Linked DNA regions of Homo sapiens: region 2 is linked to region 1. The links are contacts of gene promoters, found by promoter capture Hi-C in blood cells and fetal thymus (Javierre and others, 2016). All regions are on one chromosome and are shown on one strand. The core of a region is centred on a gene start or on the middle of the fragment in contact, and the rest is flanking DNA. Distances in the headings are between cores, read along the strand shown. Region 1 has its middle 8.9 kb from the start of CARMIL3. Region 2 holds the start of CIDEB (cell death inducing DFFA like effector b).

What was found. The method cuts DNA at HindIII sites, captures the fragments that hold promoters and counts their contacts. A CHiCAGO score of 5 or more calls a contact.
Region 2: a contact is called between the fragment with the promoter of CIDEB here and a fragment that was not itself captured in region 1, in 1 of 17 cell types (activated CD4 T cells). The highest score is 5.8, in activated CD4 T cells.

Annotation. Positions count from the first base shown.
Region 1 is chr14:24,040,057-24,046,247 of GRCh38, reverse strand. It overlaps the pseudogene DHRS4L1. Among named protein-coding and RNA genes, the nearest start is that of CARMIL3, 8.9 kb to the left of the region's middle. The HindIII fragment of the contact is 635 bases long and covers 2,919-3,553 here.
Region 2 is chr14:24,305,463-24,311,653 of GRCh38, reverse strand. It overlaps CIDEB (cell death inducing DFFA like effector b), which reads left to right and starts at 3,677. Exons shown (of 5, transcript NM_001393339.1): 1 at 3,677-3,836; 2 at 4,139-4,283; 3 at 5,131-5,280; 4 at 5,517-5,707; 5 at 5,889-6,191. The coding sequence starts at 3,796. The coding sequence ends at 6,021. NOP9 (NOP9 nucleolar protein) reads right to left here. Exons shown (of 10, transcript NM_174913.3): 10 at 2,530-6,191. LTB4R2 (leukotriene B4 receptor 2) reads right to left here and starts at 1,514. Exons shown (of 2, transcript NM_019839.5): 1 at 1,399-1,514; 2 at 1-999. The coding sequence starts at 989. LTB4R (leukotriene B4 receptor) reads right to left here and starts at 152. Exons shown (of 2, transcript NM_001143919.3): 1 at 1-152. RefSeq lists silencers at 239-368, 569-668. The HindIII fragment of the contact is 15,090 bases long and covers 1-6,191 here.

The DNA of each region.
Region 1 (6,191 bases), core at 1,987-4,486:
GAAAATTCTAGGGCTCTCAAGATTTATGCTAAATCTACTCTGCCTGTGCTCTATAAATGGAACAACAAAGCCTGGATAACAGCACATCTGTTTATAGCATGGTTAACTGAATATTTTAAGCTCACCGTTGATAGCTACTGCTCAGAAAAAGATTCCTTTCAAACTGTTACTGCTCATTGACAATGCACCTGGTCACTCAAAAGCTCTGATGGAGATGTACAAGGAGATTAATGTTGTTTTCATGCCTGCTAACACAACATCCATTCTGCAGCCCATGGATCAGGGGGTAATTCTGACTTGCAAGACTTGTTATTTAAGAAATACATTTTGTAAGGCTGTAGCTGCCATAGATAATGATTCCTCTGATTTATCTGGGCAAAGTCAACTGAAAACCTTCTAAAAAGGATCCACCATTCTAGATGCCATTAAGAATATTTGTGATTCATGGGAGGAGGTCAAAATATCTACATTAACAGGAGTCTGGAAGAAGTTGATTCCAACCCTCATGGATGACGTGGAAGGGTTCAACACTGCATCAGAGGAAGGAACTGCAGATGTGGTGGAAATAGCAAGAGAACTAGAAGTGGAGCTGGAAGATGGGACTGAATTGCTGCAATCTCACGACAAAATGTAGATGGCTGAGGAGCTGGTTCTTACGGATAAGCAAATAAAGTGGTTTCTTGGGATGGAATCTATTTCCGGTGAAGATGCCATGAACATTGTTGAAATCACAACACGGGATTCAGAATATGATATGTACTTAGTTGAGTAAGCAGTGGTAGAGTTTGTAGGATTGACTCCAATTTTGAAAGAAGTTCTACTGTGGGTAAATGCTATCAAACAGGCTTGCATGCTACAGAGAAATCTTTTGTGAAAGGAAGAGTCAACTGATGTGGCAAACTTCACTGCTGTCTTATTTGAAGAAATTGCCACAGCCACCCCAGCCTTCAGCAACACCACCCTAAGTCAGCCACCATCAATGTTGAGGCAAGACCCTCTAAGGCCGGATGTGGTGGCTCACGCCTGTAATCCTAGCACTTTGGGAAACCGAGGCGGGTGAATCACGAGGTCAGGAGATTGAGACCATCCTGGCTAACACGGTGAAACCCCGTCTCTACTAAAAATACAAAAAATTAGCTGGGTGTGGTGGCGGGTGCCTATAGTCCCAGCTACTCAGGAGGCTGAGGCAGGAGAATCGCTTGAACCTGGGAGGCGGAGGTTGCAGTGAGCCGAGATGGTGCCATTGCACTCCAGCCTGGGCTACACAGTGAGACTCCATCTAAAAAAAAAAAAAAAAAAAGACCCTCCACCAGCAAAAAGATTACAACTTCTAAAGGCTCAGATCATTGTTAGCACTTTTTAGCAATAAAGTATTTTAAAATTAAGATATGTATATATTTTTAAAGACATAATGCTATTGCTCATTTAATAGACAACCATTAGATGACCATTATAGTGTAAACGTAACTTTTATATGCACTGGGAAACCAAAAAATTCGTGTGTCTCACTTTATTATAATATTCACTTTATTGTGCGGTGGCCTGGAACCAGACCCACAATATCTCCGAGGTGTGCCTGTACTTAGTTTAAAACTGACTTTCATAGGGTCTCTATTCAGACTGTTCATGAAAGATGTTCCTCCATTGTAAAGACTATCAGAATCTGTCTGGGTGCAGTGGCTCACGCCTATAATCCCAGCACTTTGAGAGGCCGAGGTGGGTGGATCAGTTGAGGCCAGGAATTTGAGACCAGCCTGGGCAACACAGTGAAACCCTGTCTCTACTGAAAATATCAAAAATTAGCCGGGCATGGTGGCACATGCCTGTAGTCCCAGGTACTTGGCAGGCTGAGGCACAAGAATCGCTTGAACCTGGGAGGCGGGGGTTGCAGTGAGCTAGATCGCAGCACTGCACTCCAGCCTCGATGACACAGCGAGGAAAAAAAAAAAAAGAGGGACAAAGCTTAACAATAAAAAACTAGCTCACTGAAGAACATTTTGGCACTTTGGTCTTTATGTGTATGAAACACTGGTAAATAAATCATAGTGTTTTCACATCCTGATACTTTAGTGTTGAGAAATGTTTGATGACATCTGATATAGTTGGTATGTTTGTCCCCTCTAAGTCCCATGTTGAAATGTGATCACCAGTGTTCAAGGTGGAACCTGGTGTGAGGTGTTTGGGTCATGGGGTGGATCCCTTATGAATGGCTTGGTGCTCTCCTGGTGGCAATTAGTGAGCTCTCACTCTATTAGTTCATGCCAGAGCTAGTTGTTTAAAAGCCTGGTATCTCACTTCCTCTCTTGCCATGTAACGCGCCTGCTCCCTTTTGCCTTCTGCTATGATTGTAAGCTTCCTGAGGCCTCATCAGAAGCAGATACTGGCACCATGCTTCTTCTGCAGTCTGCAGAAGTGTAAACCAAAACAACCCTCTTTTCTTTTCTTTTTTTTTTTTTTTTGAGACGGAGTCTCGCTCTGTCACCCAGGCTGGAGTGCAGTGGCGCAATCTCGGCTCACTGCAAGCTCCGCCTCCCGGGTTCACACCATTCTCCTGCCTCAGCCTCCCAAGTAGCTGAGACTACAGGTGCCCGCCACCACACCCGGCTGATTTTTTGTATTTTTAGTAGAGACGGGCTTTCACCATGTTAGCCAAGATGGTCTCGATCTCCTGACCTCGTGATCTGCCCGCCTCGACCTCCCAAAGTGTTGGGATTACAGGCGTTAGCCACCGCGCCCGGCCACAACCCTCTTTTTCTTTATAAATTGCCCAGCTCAGGTATTCCTTTATAGCAACGCAAAACAGACTAATACAACATCAGAGTAAAAAGCAAAACCATGGGAGATCATAAAAAATTAGCATTTCCAAATCGTGGGACTATTAACCTTAGTATACAAAGACAAATATTTTAATTAAAGCTTTGTAATTAAAGAATGTGTGTGAAATATATTACGAATGTAATGTAATTATATACTTACACATAAAACCCAATATTGTACCACTTGAATATAGACATCTGGATCTCAGATTTTCTTGACATTGCAGTTAGGAAGAAAATAATATAGGTTTTTATTTTTACTTTTTTAAAGGATGTATATTATAAAGTGGCAACTGGTTATTTCACCAGAATTAGTATTTTACTTAACTAGCAGCTTTTAATATTTCCCAGCTAATGAAAAATGATTCCTTTTTGGCAGCTGAAAGGGGGACAGTTGGGTGTGTAAGTTTAAGTGTCATAGTTGTTGGCATATTAGCTGCCACGTCTCTGTTGGAAATCAACCAGGTAGCAGAGCATGCCGGGAAGAAGGCTGGGGAGGGGAGCAGACGGTGGATAGTGAAGGGCAGATGGAAGCAGACAGAAGTAGGAGCAGCAGAAACGAATGAGAAGGGCAGGGACAGAGGAAGCTGCCCCCACCCGCCCTTTACCAGGTGTGCTCCAGGTGTGTGGCATGTGGCAAAGACTCCTCACATTTACACTGCACTTGATAAACACATTCTAAAAGCAGACGGAGTTTGTTATCGATAGTGATAGGATATCAATAACTCCATGAAGCTTCATAGCCTAGGGAGAGGGGTAAGGTCTGGACCAGGGCTGCAGTAAGTAAGGGAGGTGCATTTATTCACGTTGATAAAAACTTCCTTCTGGGCGGGGCGTGGTGGCTCACGCCGGGAATCATGGCACTTTGGGAGGTCACGGTGGGAGGACCACTTGAACTGAGCAGTTTGAGAGAAGCCTGGGCAACATAGGGAGACCTTATCCCTATATTTAAAAAAACAACAACAATGACAACAACAACAACAACAAATCTTCCTTCTTAGGAACTATCGTCAAAATAACTTCTATTTCTTAAAACATCTTTTTTGAAAACTACCCTAAGATCTGCTGCTAACCATTTAAGGTTGGCTTCTTTCTTTTTTTAGATGGAGTCTTCCTCTGTCACCCAGGCTGGAGTTCAGTGGCATGATCCCAGCTCACTGCAGCCTTGACCTACTGGGTTCAAGCCATCCTCCTGCCTCAGCCCCCCAAGTAGCTGAGAATACAGGTGCGTGCCATCACACCTGGGCAATTTTTGTACTTTTTGTAGAGACAGGGTCTTGCCATGTTGCCCAGGCTGGTCTGGAACTCCTGAGCTAAAGCCATCCGCCTGCCTCGGCCTCTCAAAGTGTTACAGGTGTGAGCCACCAGGAAGTTGGCCTTATTTCTTTTGCAGTGTTTTCTTCCCACCTCCTATTCTTCTAAGGCTGTCTCTGACCCTATGCTCTTTTCTTTACATTTTCCCATTTGGGAGCTCCTTCATTCTCGTGATTTCAAATCTCACCCCAAAATCTATTTCCAGACCCCTCCTCTTCCTTTCACACTGAGTTCCACCCACATTTCTCCAAGTGCTTACTGTCCAGTTCTTCTTGAATAAGTTACCATTATTTCAAAGTCAATCTGGCCACACTTACCTGAATGGAAAAACTGGCTTAAATAGAGCTGTAGAAAGTTACCCTGGAGGGGCCTTTGAGATCATCTATTCCAATGTCCTTAAGGTGGAGATGATGAAACAGGTTCAGGGAATTTTCTCAAGATCATATAGTTCAGTAGTAACACACTGGGGCTAGCTAAGAACAGGAGGCCTGCTTATTCCGTGTTGGGGAAAGTGATTTGTTCAGGGCATAAAGCTAGTTAGTGGTGGAAGAACTGAGGTCAGTCTCCCACTTTGTAGCACAGAGCTAATTCGTAAGAGCCCTCTGAAAGTGAGCTGGGGTCATTAGGAAACCGGCTGCCCAGGAGAGCCATGATGGGAGAAGATACCAGCCTGAATTTAAAGCAATTCCATATTTGGTTATGATGTCATTTTCCCTGTCTCTGTCTCTCTCTTTTGACCTGGAGGCATGAAAGATTCAAGGCAGAAAGGGAAATTTAAACTGAGAAAGCCAAGAAAGGCAACATCTCACCTCCTTAATAAGTTATAAGTAGGTAGTGAGGCATGTGCTAGAGTAATGAATGGCCAAGCAGAATCTGCCAACAAGGGTTTTCAGTACAAAGCCACCCTGAAACCAGACTTTGCATTTGCCTGGAACTGGCAATTTTGATGCCTTGGGCAAGTAGCAGTACATGGGCCCTTGGTCAATTTTGTGCTCCGGATTTGGCCCACGGAGGGGTGTTATTAACAATGTACACCATCTGCTAGCTTCCCATTTTAACTAATTATTCTTGTTAACTAGGTGCTAACCTTCAACACAGTTGAAGAAATGCCTGGGCTGTCAACGTGTAAATCTAACAAAATTTAAAGTCAAGTACTCTTTTAAAACCAGTATGAATACTTTCTTGCACCCTTTAAATTTTGGTATCCTGGCACAAAGCCAAGTCACCTGCCTTGGCTCTGTGTAAGTCTCACCAATGTACTTGTTACTAGGGAGGTGCAGAATAAGTTAATAAGTGATGTGTGCTGTGCTCAGTGCACGTGTGTTTGGGCTGGGAGAAGACAGTGGATTGCTCCAGAATCACCTGGAGACATTTTCTACTCTGCTGCATACCCCATGCCCCTCTACTTCCAGGTCTGTCAGCACAGAGATGGGAGGAGGCTGGGTTTTGAATGAACAGAGACAGCAAACCATAAAAGATGAATGAGGCTGGGTGTGGTGGCTCACACCTATAATCCTAGCACTTTGGTACGGCCAGTAGGGAGGACCGCTTGAGGCCAGGAGTTCAAAACCAGCCTGGGCAATAAAGCCCCAACTCTACAACAAATTTAAAAGATGAACTGGCGTGGTGGTGCATGCCTATAATCTTAGCCACTTGGGAGGCTGACGGGGGAGGACTGCTTGAGCTCAAGAGTTGGAGGTTACAGTGAGCTATGATCATGCCACTGCACTCCAGCCTGGGCAACAGAGTGAGGCCCTGTCTCTGGGGGGAAAAGAAAAAGATGTCTTCTAAGTGTTCTAAATTGTGTGATCACTACACTAAAGTGGTTAGGAGCTGTTTGTTCTGTGTTCTGATAGTTATACATTTTTAAGAAAAAATATAATCAAGCAGATAGGCAGCTACTCTGGTTTCCACTTACAACACCAGTGAGAAGCTTCGTGGTGTGCAGATGAGGAGGCCACTGGGTAGTATCCATTCTCAGGGCAGTGGCTTTTCTCATTGCAGGGTAACATGTGACAACTGGCAGAAGACATTTCAAATTGCTGACAAGTATTCTATCAT
Region 2 (6,191 bases), core at 2,428-4,927, 260 kb before region 1:
GTAGTTCGGAGCTCCATGGTCCCTTCCCTAGAGCGGCCGCCCCCTCGGGCCTCCCCAGAGCCTTCGAAGAGCCGCGTGAGGAAACGGGGACCTGCCCGGGGCAGCAGATCTCCAGCGGTGAAGACGTAGAGCACCGGGTTGACGCTAGAACTGAAGAAGGCCAAGGCCGTAGTTCCCGCTCGCGCCGCCTGGCCGGCTCCGCCCAGCTTCGCCAAGGCCCCTTCCGGTGGAGCCAGCGCTGCGACCGCCTGCAGAAGGTTGACTGCGTGGTAGGGGGCCCAGAGCAAGCCGAAGGCAAGCACGATGGCGCTCACCAGCCGGCCCACCCGCGCCCCGTGCCGCCCGGAGCCCCAGCGGGCGCCCCGCAGCCGTGCCAGCGTCACGCTGTAGCAGCCGAGCATCAGCCCGAAAGGAAGCACGAAAGCGGTCAGAGTCTCCAGGCTCAGGTGGGCGGCGGCGTGGACCGGCGACGGGTGGCACAGCTGGCATACGCGGTCCCTCCACAGGTGGCGGTAGACGGCGGCCGGGACGGCGAGCAACAGGGCGGCCAGCCAGACCGCCAGCAGCAGGCGGCGGGCCAGGGCCGGGCTGCGCAGCCGAGGCGCCAGGAAGGGGCGGGTGACTGCGAGGCAGCGCTGCAGGCTGAGCAGGCCGGTGAGCAGCACGCTGGCGTACATGCTGAGCGCGCACACGTAGTACACCGCCTTGCAGCCCGCCTGGCCCAGCGGCCAGGCCTGCCGGGTCAGGAAGGCCACAAAGAGCGGCGTGAGCAGCAGCACCGCGCCGTCGGCCAGCGCCAGGTGCAGCACAAGCGTGGCCGCCAGCGGTCGCCCCCGTGCAGGCCGCCAGCCCGCCAAGCTCCACACCACGAAGCCGTTGCCAGGCAGCCCCAGCAGCGCCGCCAGCAGCAGGAAGGCTGTGCCTGTGGCCCGCGAAGTCTTCCAGCTCAGCAGTGTCTCGTTCCCTGGGGGACGGTAGCAGACCGACATCCTTCTGGGCCTACAGGTGGGTGGAAGGCGCCACAGAGGGCGTTCAGGGGTGGGGCAAAACCCCACCTGTGATGCCCGATGAGAAGGTGCCATGCCTCCTCCTTACTTCCCTGCAGCCTGCCTCTTTTCTGCCTGGGAGTCCTGACTTCCACGAGGACCCAGACCCCACCTCAAACACAACTCCTTCTTGGAACCCAGATCCCCTGCTCCCAGTCAGTTGACCTGCCCCACTCCTGGCCTCCTTCCCAGAGCTCAGTGGTAAACAGGCATAAAGTCATCACCCCAGGCTGTCACTATCTCTACCACCACTCCTCTAGTCTGGCCCCTCCTTCTTTGTCCAGCCCCATTCTAGCACATCTGGGCAAAACTGGATGGTGGGGTGTAAAGGGACGTGCACAGATCTACTTACCAAGCTGGGAGCAAGCAGGATTGGGGGCCTGGAGAAGCTGAAAGGTTAAGCAGCAGTAGGCGAGGTGCCTACTCCTGTCCTGTGCCTATCACATTTGCAGAGGGTAAGACAAGAATGGGGAGGGACAAGATGAGGCTCATCCTGGGCCTCTCCTGGGGCCCCTCCCTCACCCTGCTCCTTCCCATCACCAACGCACCCAGGCGTCCAGGCATGTGAGAGCCTGCCTTGCCAGGAAACAGCACAAGCTGAAGTGGGGCAGTAAGATTCCCTGGTGGTGGAAGGAAATAGGAGGACTCTGCTGAATCCTGGTCCTGCTTCTGTTCTCATCCCTCCCCCAGCTCTGGCCCCAATCCTCCCAGCCCACCTTCTGCAGTGTGTATGTTGCCTGGTCTCTCTGGCCTGCAGAGGTGACCCAAACAACTCAGTCCCCCACCTGCCTTATCCTTGCCTGTTTCCAGTCTCCTGGTCCGGCTGAGCCCCTGGCCTCCTACCTCCTCCCACCTCTTGCCTCAGGCCCTGCCCCAGTCACTCCACCCTCAGGGCTCTCACCGGGCTGTCAATGACAGCTTTTCCATGTAAGGCATGGTGCTAGGTTCCAGGAGGAACAGGGGATGCATGGAGGCATAATGGTTAGGGAGTCATGACACACAACCATGAAGAGGCCCCATTACCAGGCTGCACCAGGATACAAGACAAGAAAGGAAAGGATGAGTAGGGACATACTAAGAAGCAGCCCTCTCCTCTTGGAAAAGTCAAGCAAAACTTGGAAATGAAGAGATTTGAGGGGGGCCTGGCAGATGGATAGAGCTGGGGGAAGGGAAAAGAAAGGCCTCTGCTCAAGTAACAGCCAGAACTTGAGGTTGCTTGGGGAGGGCACCAGGAGCACTGTCTTAGTTTGGGTTCTTCCAAAGCAGAGCTTGAGCTAAGGGCTTGGGTACAGGTGATCCTGTATTCTTGAGCTAAGGGCTTGGGTACAGGTGATCCTGTATTTGGGAGGTTAACTCAGGAAGTGAGGGCATAAGGTAAAACAAGAGAGAGGAAAGCCATTAAGAGTATGTTAAGTCCCTTCAGTAGGCCTTGGGAACCTCTGAGAAAAGTATAGATTGCCCAAGACAAAAGACTGGCAGGGTGATCAGTCCAAAGCATTTATTAGGAGAATGTACTTAATGAGTGGGCTACAGCGTATCCTCACAACAGACAGTGAGAGAGAGTTGTTCTACCTGGGTATATCCAAAACAAGGGGGTCAGGGTATGGAGTTTACGAGGGTTCAAGGTATTTGGTTCAGGGCCAGGGCCAGTTTTTTTCAGTGTTTTGGGCAACAACCTGAATACCTTTTCAAGGCTCTGGCTTGGGCTCAAGCCTGCAGGGGAAATGCAACTGGCCAGGTCACAGGGCAATCAAGTTACTCTGTGTTTCTTTGTCAGGACACAGAAAAAAAGTGGGGAAGCTGGGGGACCCTACAAGGATCCTTGGCAGGAAAGCAGGGATTGTGTTCATTTGAGGGTTTCACTGTCAGTGAGAGTCTCAGCTTCCATGCAACTGTCCATCACGGCTGCAACTGAAATCAGAGCTGGGACACAGCGCACCAGAAGCTAAAGTCTTGATGCCATCAAAGGACATCCCTGCCCCATTCACATCTCTGTCACGTCCACTAATCGGCAAAAGGAGAAAAGTGAGAGAAGATGACCTAAGTGTGACTGCAGCAGGCAGCTCTGGAAAATGAAGCCAGAGCAGTGAGCCAGCCCCTCCTCCGACCAAGGAGGAAGGAAAGAGCAGGTAAGCAGGAAGGCCAGTGTCCCAGACAGGACCCTAATGATCCTGAATCCATGTATCAGGATCCATCCTCTCCTTACACCCTTCCTGGACACAGTCTCACCTCTCATTTTCCAAAGCCCTGCCATGCTGCCATCCCACTTCCCCACACTCTGCCCCGGGTTCCCTTTTCCTAAAGCTGCAGCTTATGGCTTCTCCAGTAGGTGGCAGCACACACAGAGCCACTCATAAACTGCAGCTTCTCAGAGCCTGAGAGCCAGAAACCGTCCCCAGAAATTCCCTCCATAGAAATAAAAAAACACCAGAAGTCACATTTCATCCTTTTACATGGTTCCCATCTACCCTCACAACACATGTCATCACCAAAGACACACATACAAGCTCCAATGGCTTTTGCCAGGCAATTCTTCCTCCAGGACCCCATCTGGCCCCTCCCTCATCCCTCCCCTTGGACTTTGCCCTTCTTACTGGCCAGGCAGGGGGGCCAGAGTCCAGGCTTGACTCATTCCCACCTTGTCCTGGGCTGAGATCCCAGGTTTGTAACAGAAAACACCACTAAAGCCCCAGCACAGGAGAGAACCACCCAGCCCAGAAGTTCCAGGGAAGGAACTCTCCGGTCCACCATGGAGTACCTCTCAGCTCTGAACCCCAGTGACTTACTCAGGTGACTGCTAACCCTCCGCTCTACCCTCCACCTTTAGGGGATATAGGCAGGGCAACAATACTCCACTCAGCCCCTAGGAGACTAACCAGTACCCCTTCCTCTCCTGCTCCCCACTCCACAGTGGGCTTGTCAAGCTCCTGAGCCACCCGCCCCCACCTGCACTCCATGGTCTCTCCCTCATCCCTAATCGATAAACCTAGATCTCTCCCTCCCTAGCCCTCTAGCCACTCTACCCTCATCATGCCCTTTACACTCACCAAGCCCCTCCTCGCCCCTTCTTGACTTTTCTTCTCAACTACCAGGTCAGTATCTAATATAAGCTCGGAGTTTGGACGGAGGGTCTGGACCTCAGCTCCACCACCCCAGCGACCTTTCCGTGTCTGTGATCACAAGCGGACCATCCGGAAAGGCCTGACAGCTGCCACCCGCCAGGAGCTGCTAGCCAAAGTAAGTAGGCCAAGTTCCTCGGTTCCTATAGCAGGGGTAGCCAAGGGGCTCCACAACAGTGGCAACTTGTGATGATGGAGCAGAGGGCTGAAGTCACACAGCTGCCCCTCCCTCTGAGGGCTAAAAGCAGCGGAGTGGGCCTAATGAGCTCTGGTCAATTTGTTCATTTTCCACCGAGTGAGCTTTTCTATGGGAGCAGGGGTTAGCAGGAGATAGGGAGAGTTCGAGGGACAGAATTCAGAAGCTAGTATGGAAAGGTGATTTGTGTGACAAATCAAGTTCAAATTCTGATTCTGCCACTTCCTGCCTGTCAAACCTTGGGAAGTTGTTCAACCTACCAAAACCTCAGTTTCTTCAACTATAAAAAGGCAATAATAATACATCACCTCCTAGGGTTGTTGAAAGGAGTAAGAGGATAATGTAGGTAAAGTCCTCATACCTGGCACAGAGTAAGGACTCAAAAAGGTTAAACACTATTACTGAAAACACTTCTGGAGAACTCTTGAGGGTGTGGGAAGTGAGGTGCAGCATTGTAGATAAGACAGAAGGGTGGACTTCGTGAGAACCTGGCTTGCTTTCCAATTCCAAACCAGAAGTGACTTGGAGGGGAGCAAGGGGAGATGCCAATGACATGGTAGGAGCAAAGAGGAAAAAGGTCAGCCTCTAGCTAGGATCCCCCAAAAACTGAAGAACACGGAGAGCTGCAACCTTTAGGAGGTATCAAAGTGCCGGAAAGTCAAAGTGGGACATCGACCAATGTCTAGAGCCAACTGATGGATGTTGGGCAGCTAAAGAGGGAAGGGGCATGGGATAAGACCTGCCCTTCTTGCTTCTTGCCATTGGGCAGGCATTGGAGACCCTACTGCTGAATGGAGTGCTAACCCTGGTGCTAGAGGAGGATGGAACTGCAGTGGACAGTGAGGACTTCTTCCAGCTGCTGGAGGATGACACGTGCCTGATGGTGTTGCAGTCTGGTCAGAGCTGGAGCCCTACAAGGGTAAGAGGCCTATACTGGGGCTGCTTCCAATGCCTGTCCTTTAGAGCTTTCCCGGGCTTCCTCTCTAGCTTAACCCTGATCCTGGGGACCAGGTGCAGGAGGAGTTGTGGAATTGTCAAGGATGTCACACAGTGGACAGAAAGTCCAAGCGAGGGAGGGTCTGACCCAGTGCTGATGGAGATTAGTGGTGGGTGTCTGGTATGAGGATCTACTGCACTGACAAGGGTGTCCTACAGAGTGGAGTGCTGTCATATGGCCTGGGACGGGAGAGGCCCAAGCACAGCAAGGACATCGCCCGATTCACCTTTGACGTGTACAAGCAAAACCCTCGAGACCTCTTTGGCAGCCTGAATGTCAAAGCCACATTCTACGGGCTCTACTCTATGAGTTGTGACTTTCAAGGACTTGGCCCAAAGAAAGTACTCAGGTCAGAAATCAACATGTCATACTGCCCCATCCCCTACAGTTGGATAGTCCCCATAATTCGTCCTCTTGCACCCACCTACCCCTAGTTAGCTCTTGCTTGTGGAAAGTCCTCATCTCCCAGCTTGATGGCTTCCTCCCAAGTTTTCCAAATCATCTGATTTCCTCTTGTCTCTGCCATTCAGGGAGCTCCTTCGTTGGACCTCCACACTGCTGCAAGGCCTGGGCCATATGTTGCTGGGAATTTCCTCCACCCTTCGTCATGCAGTGGAGGGGGCTGAGCAGTGGCAGCAGAAGGGCCGCCTCCATTCCTACTAAGGGGCTCTGAGCTTCTGCCCCCAGAATCATTCCAACCGACCCACTGCAAAGACTATGACAGCATCAAATTTCAGGACCTGCAGACAGTACAGGCTAGATAACCCACCCAATTTCCCCACTGTCCTCTGATCCCCTCGTGACAGAACCTTTCAGCATAACGCCTCACATCC